Linked DNA regions of Homo sapiens: region 1 is linked to region 2. Evidence: promoter capture Hi-C in human tissues and cell types (Jung and others, 2019). All regions are on one chromosome and are shown on one strand. Each heading gives the region's core, a stretch centred on a gene start or on the middle of the fragment in contact. The rest is flanking DNA. Distances are from core to core; before and after follow the strand shown. Region 1 has its middle 29 kb from the start of A4GALT. Region 2 holds the start of ARFGAP3 (ARF GTPase activating protein 3).

Region 1 (3,438 bases), core at 537-3,036, 110 kb before region 2:
AGAATATCTCAAATGCAAAAGTGAACGTTTCATGACATACAAGTGGCTGTCTACAGAGCAGTTAAGGGGTGTTAGCATCCTGCGACAGGGTCTGTGTGATTCTGAGGCCGCCACAGGCACTGCATGGCTGTGAGGCAGCTGGTCAGAGAGCAGGCTGCTCTCAGAGCTCATGCTGAGTAGCTTGCAAGCTTGGCTTGTTTCCGTTTTTCCCTCCTCTTCCCTGATTACTTTTTTTTTTTTTTTTTGAGATGGAATCTGGCTCTTGTCGCCCAGGCTGGAGTGCAGTGCCGCAATCTCAGCTCACTGCAACCTCTGCCTCTTGGTTCCAGCGATTCTCCTTCCTCAGCCTCCCGAGTAGCTGCAATTACAGGCGCCCATCACCACACCCAGCTAATTTTTGTGTTTTTAGTAGAGACAGGGTTTTGCCATGTTGACCAGGCTGGTCTCAAACTCCTAACCTCAAGTGATTTGCCTGCCTCAGCCTCCCAAAGTGCTGGGATGACAGGTATGAGCCATTGCACCGAGCCCCTGATTAATTTTATAAATTTTATAAGGAGTTTCCCTGGGACCCCTATCTCCAGGGTTTGGCTATCCTGGGCTCCCCTGCAGCTACATTCCCAGGGTCCTCCCATCTGAGGCTAGGAGGGGCCTCATCCCTTCCGAGGCTTAGGTGGGGAGGCTGCCAATCCCTCCCCTCCGCCTGCACCTGCCTCTAACCCACTGCCCTCCTGCTTGCCCCAGCCTAATCCTCTGAGGGAGCCCCAGTTTCTGCCACTCCAGGGTGTGTGGGTGCTGGCCAGGGAGGCTGTGATCTGGTTGCCCGCTCTGTCTGCTTTCCCAGAGACAAGCGAGCCGAAGGCCTGGCCTCTTTGTTGGGATGGGAAAGAGAGATGCCCCCACAGCAATGAGAAGCGCTTGGTTATTATCCCAGTCGGCACCAGCTACTCCAGGCAACTGCGCTTTGCAGCCTGCAGGATGCAGGCTCAGGGACTCGAAGAGGACATTCTGTGGCCTCCCCAGTGGCACCACCCTCTCCTGGCAGCTAGGGATCCACCCTCCCCAGCCATGTAGGCCTGGTGGCTGGCTCTTAACCTCCCATGCCAGGTGGGGGTGCCCCTGCACTACTGTCCGTCCTCAGGCTGGCTGCTCCCACTCCCATGGTCCCTGTGTTCGCAGCCTCACCACTGGCAGAAAAAATAAGCATCACTGGTTGGGCGCGGTGGCTCATGCCTGTAATAACAGCATTTTGGGAGGCCGAGGCAGGTGGATCACTTGAGGTTAGGAGTTCGAGACCAGCCTGGCCAACATGGTGAAACCACGTCTCTACTAAAAATACAAAATTAGCCAGGCATGGTGGCACATGCCTTTCAAAAAAAAAAAAAGCATCATTTCATCATTGCATCATTGCTGGGCACAGCTCCTTCCCAGGCAGGTCTGAGCTTGTTGCCCAGGGTAGGTTCCCAATACTCAGCAAAGCCTTTGCTACTTCTGTGCTTCCTTACAGTGTGGGCCTCACAGAGTTGTTTTTTTTTTTTTTTTTTATGGAGTCTCACTCTGTCACCCAGGCTGGAGTGCAGTGGCACAAACTCGGCTCACTGCAACCTGTGCCTCCCAGGTTCAAGTGATTCTCCTGCCTCACCCTCCCGAGTAGCTGAGATTATAGGTGCACAACACCACGCCCAGCTAATTTTCTTTTTTATTTATTTATTTATTTATTTATTTATTTTTATTGATCATTCTTGGGTGTTTCTCACAGAGGGGGATTTGGCAGGGTCAAAGGACAATAGTGGAGGGAAGGTCAGCAGATAAACAAGTGAACAAAGGTCTCTGGTTTTCCTAGGCAGAGGACCCTGCGGCCTTCCGCAGTGTTTGTGTCCCTGGGTACTTGAGATTAGGGAGTGGTGATGACTCCTAACGAGCATGCTGCCTTCAAGCATCTGTTTAACAAAGCACATCTTGCACCGCCCTTAATCCATTTAACTCTGAGTGGACACAGCACATGTTTCAGAGAGCACAGGGTCGGGGGTAAGGTCACAGATCAACAGGATCCCAAGGCAGAAGAATTTTTCTTAGTACAGAACAAAATGAAAAGTCTCCCATGTCTACCTCCCTCTACACAGACACGGCAACCATCCGATTCCTCAATCTTTTCCCCACCTTTCCCCCCGCTCCATTCCACAAAGCCGCCATTGTCATCCTGGCCCGCTCTCAATGAGCTGTTGGGCACACCTCCCAGACGGGGTGGTGGCCGGGCAGAGGGGCTCCTCACCTCCCAGCAGGGGCGGCCGGGCAGAGGCGCCCCTCACCTCCCAGACGGGGCGGCTGGCCGGGCGGGGGGCTGACCCCCCCACCTCCCTCCCGGACGGGGCGGCTGCCGGGCGGAGGGGCTCCTCACTTCTCAGACGGGGCGGCCGGGCAGAGACGCTCCTCACTTCCTAGATGTGACGGCGGCCGGGAAGAGGCGCTCCTCACTTCCTAGATGGGATGGCGGCTGGGCAGAGACGCTCCTCACTTTCCAGACTGGGCAGCCAGGCAGAGGGGCTCCTCACATCCCAGACGATGGGCGGCCAGGCAGAGACGCTCCTCACTTCCCAGACGGGGTGGCGGCCGGGCAGAGGCTGCAATCTCGGCACTTTGGGAGGCCAAGGCAGGCGGCTGGGAGGTGGAGGTTGTAGCGAGCCGAGATCACGCCACTGTACTCCAGCCTGGGCGCCACTGAGCACTGAGTGAACCAGACTCCGTCTGCAAACCCGGCACCTCGGGAGGCCGAGGCTGGCAGATCACTCGCGGTTAGGAGCTGGAGACCAGCCCGGCCAACACAGCGAAACCCCGTCTCCACCAAAAAAATACGAAAACCAGTCAGGCGTGGTGGCGCGCGCCTGCAATTGCAGGCACTCCGCAGGCTGAGGCAGGAGAATCAGGCAGGGAGGTTGCAGTGAGCCGAGATGGCAGCAGTATAGTCCAGCTTCGGCTCGGCATGAGAGGGAGACCGTGGAAAGAGAGGGAGAGGGAGACCATGGGGAGAGGGAGACCATGAGGAGAGGGAGAGGGACAGGGACAGGGACAGGGAGAGGGAGAGCTACTCCCTGTGTTTGATTCCCCTCCAAGAGCCCTAATTTTCATCTTTTAATAGAAACGGGGTTTCACCATGTTGGCCAGGCTGGTCTCGAACTCCTGAACTCAGGTGATCTGCCCGCCTAGGCCTCCCAAAGTGCTGGGATTACAGGCGCATGACACCATGCCCAGCTAATTTTTGTATTTTTAGTAGAGTCAGTTTCACCATGTTGGCCAGGCTGGTCTCGAACCCCTGACCTCAAGTGATCCACCCGCCTCGGCTTCCCAAAGTGCTGGGATTACAGGCGTGAGCCACCGTGCCCGGCTACGCCCTGCTGATTTTTGTATTTTTAACAGAGATGGGGTTTCACCATGTTGGCCGTG
Region 2 (3,249 bases), core at 452-2,951:
GCGACTCAGGAGGCTGAGGCAGAATTGCTCAAACCCAGGAGGCAGAGGTTGCAGTGAGCTGAGATCGCACCACTGCACTCCAGCCTGGGCGACAGAGCAAGGCTCTGTCTCAAAAAAATTAAAATTAAAACGTTAAAAAAAAAAAAAAGAACATTAAGGCCAGCATGGTGGCTCATGCCTGTAATCCTAGCACTCTGGGAGGCCAAGGCAGGAGGAGGCAGGAGGACTGCTTGAGCCCAGGAATTTGACACCAGCACGGGCAACATAGCAAGACCCTGTCTCTACAAAAATTAATTAATTAATTAATTAATAATAACAATTAGCTGGGCGTGGTGGTACAGCCCTGTGGTGTCAGCCTCATCAGGAGGCTGGGAAGGAAGGATGGCTTGGGCTGGGTAGGTCAAGGCTGCAGTGAGCTAGGATCAAGGCACTACACTTCAGCCTGGGTGACGGGGTGAGACCCTGTCTCTAAAAAAATAAATAAATAAAAATGTGAAAATCAAGAGAACAGTAAAGAAACGGGCACTGGAGAATTCCTGGAGCCTTTCTCTTAACTTTCCCACATCCATCAGACATCACCTCCAATAAACTGTTTCCTTCCTCACCTAGGCTGGAAAAAATATGGGCTCCCCTGTACCATCAAGACTTAAAACCAACAGAAACACCTATTTTGTAACACTCGGGAACTTTCTATGCCAGCATATCGAGGTTCAATAACAGCTGTTCCCTTCGGGAAGTGACAGTGGGAACCAGACAACACTCGTGTCACAGGAGGGGCGGGGAGAGCCCACGCTGACGCGACAGCCCTTTGCACTCTCCAAGTCCCTCTCCGACCCGACGTGTCACCTTAGCCCCCTGCGTCACCCCAACGCCTCCAGCCAGCTGCGCAAAGCTGTAAAAGTTCCAGGGAGAGAACAGCCTCTGGAGACAAAAAAAAAAAGGAAACCTCCATCTCCAAAGAGAACCGAGGAGAGGGAGGAGGCTGTGGTGAGCCTCCCTGGCCAAAGCGACAAAAGCTGGAAGCCAAAGCGTAGACTACTCGGCAACTTTATCAGAAGAGAAACTGAGGCAGGCACCGCAAGGCCCGAGGAGCCAAGCCGGCTCCAACAGGCGGGGTCGAGCTCCAGGGTGGCGCTGGGGGAGCCGCGCTTTCCCCGCATCCGGCGCCAGCAGCCGGGGTTTCCGAGCCGGGAGCTCCCTCCTCGCAGCGCCCCCGAGGATGCCCCCGCCCCCGCCTCCGCTCAGAGCCGCCGGTGCTCGCCCCCCGCCCCAAGAGCTCGCCGGGGGGTGTGCCCGCGCCGCCGCCCCCGGGAACGCTCCCCGGCTCGCGTGAGGACCCCCGCGCTGCGGCCTCCCGCCCGGGCCTCTCAGCTGCCCGGCCCCGCCCGCCCCGGCCCGGCCAGGCTGCCGCGGCCCCACAGTGCGACGTGTCACAGGCCGCGCCGGCCCCGCCTCCCAAGCCACGGGCACTGGCGCCCGCGGGGCCTCCCGCCGGTTCCCGCAGGGATGCCAGGCAGGCCCGCACTCGCCCGCGGCCGCTACCTTGTTAGTGGGCACCGAGCGGAGGCGCTTGAAGATGGTCAAGATGTCCTGCTTGCTGGGGTCCCCCATCGTCAGCTGTGAGCCGCGGCGCAGCTGGCCCAGCCAACCGGTAAGAGTCGACGAAAAGCGGCTACCGCCTCAGCAGGAGCGACGAGGCCGCGGGGGCGGGGCTGCGCGTAACGGTCAGGCTCCGCCCCAATCCCCGCCCACGACCGGGCCCGTCCACCGCCGGGGCGCAGGCGCCGCTCGCTTTCCCTCCCCGCCCTCGCTTCAGCCGCGCCGCTGGCCCGACCCCAGGCGCTGCACGCGCGTGCGCAGGAGGCTCGCGCGCCATTTGCGGCGCGGCTCCACGCCCTTAGCGCTGGGCGAAGCCGGGCCCGGGTGTGGCTGCCTGCCACGCGCGCTGCCATAGGATCCACCAACGTTTCGCCTGGTCGATCGCCATTTCGCCTAACGGGCTGCTTCCATGGAAAGGTCAGAGGCAGGGGAAGGGGCGCACGCGCCCTCCTTCGGCACGAGACGGACGGAGGGCCCGTGCCTTGACGCCGGACCTTAGCTGGTGGCCTTCCCTTTTTTTTTTTTTTTTTTTGAGACGGAGCCTCGCTCTGTCCCCCAGGCTGGAGTGTAATGGCGCGATTGCGGCTCCTTGCAACCTCCCTGGTTCAAGCGATTCTCCTGCCTCAGCCTCCCGAGTAGGTGGGATTACAGGCGTACATCACCACGCCCGGCTAATTTTTGTATTTTTAGTAGAGACCAGGGTTTCACCATGTTGCCCAGGCTGGTCTCGAACTCCTGACTTCAGGTGATCCACCCACTTCGGCCTTCCAAATTGCTGGGATTACAGACGTGAGCCGCCGCGCCCGACTCTTTTTAATTCTTGCCCTCAGCTCACGCCAGGCCCTGGGTGGAAAGCTTTCTTTGCCCGGAAACTGGCTTTCTGAAACCAAGGGCTTTTGTGTCACGTTCATGGAGAGATGGCAGTGCGGGTTGAGGCAGAAGTGCTCAGTCAGAACTGATGAGTCCAGATGAGAAGCTTGACTTTTAACCCCGGCCCTCGGGGCTGCACCCTACCCTCTGGGAAACAATTCCAGCCAGAAGAGTTTACACTCAGCAGAAGGTGCCTCTGTCACCACAATGGGTGTGGAGCCACTGGAAAGAGGTTGGGTGATAGTGAGGAAGGACAGCAGGTTTTGGCATCAAAGGCACTACCTTGGCCTCAATCCCAGTTCAGCCAGCTGCTTCCTAGCTCTGTGGCCTTGGTCAAGACACTTACCTTCTCTAAAGCATGGTTTATTTGCAGTCTCAGGGGCTCATGCCTGTGATCCCAGCACTTTGGGAGGCTGAGGCGGGAGGATCACTTGAGCTCAGGAGTTCAAGACCAGACTGGATAATATGGTGAAACCCCGTCTCTATAAAAAAATGCAAAAATTAGCCGGGCATGCTGGCATGGGCCTGTAGTCCTAGCTACTTGGGAGGCTGAGGTGGGAGGATCGCTTTAGTCCAGGAGGTCGAGGCTGCAGTGAGCCAAGATCGCACCACTGCACTCCAGCATGGGCGACAGACCAAGACCCTGTCTCAAAAAGTAAAATAAAATAAACCATGGTTTATTCATCTGTACAAAGAAATTAAAGAATCAGTGCTGAGTAGCACAGGTGAGCAGCTTCCTAGGGATATCCTGAAGAGCCTTTGGTGGAGGCTTTCTACTGT

What was found. The method cuts DNA at HindIII sites, captures the fragments that hold promoters and counts their contacts. A contact is called where the count stands out against the background at its distance.
Region 1: a contact is called between a fragment that was not itself captured here and the fragment with the promoter of ARFGAP3 in region 2, in 4 of the 25 tissues and cell types used here (liver, lymphoblastoid cells, pancreas and 1 more).

The regions. Positions count from the first base shown.
Region 1 is chr22:42,748,243-42,751,680 of GRCh38, forward strand. No RefSeq gene overlaps it. Among named protein-coding and RNA genes, the nearest start is that of A4GALT, 29 kb to the left of the region's middle. RefSeq lists an enhancer at 331-892. The HindIII fragment of the contact is 7,860 bases long and covers 1-3,438 here.
Region 2 is chr22:42,855,572-42,858,820 of GRCh38, forward strand. It overlaps ARFGAP3 (ARF GTPase activating protein 3), which reads right to left and starts at 1,702. Exons shown (of 16, transcript NM_014570.5): 1 at 1,543-1,702. The coding sequence starts at 1,611. RefSeq lists an enhancer at 861-1,705 and a silencer at 1,228-1,977. The HindIII fragment of the contact is 10,713 bases long and covers 1-3,249 here.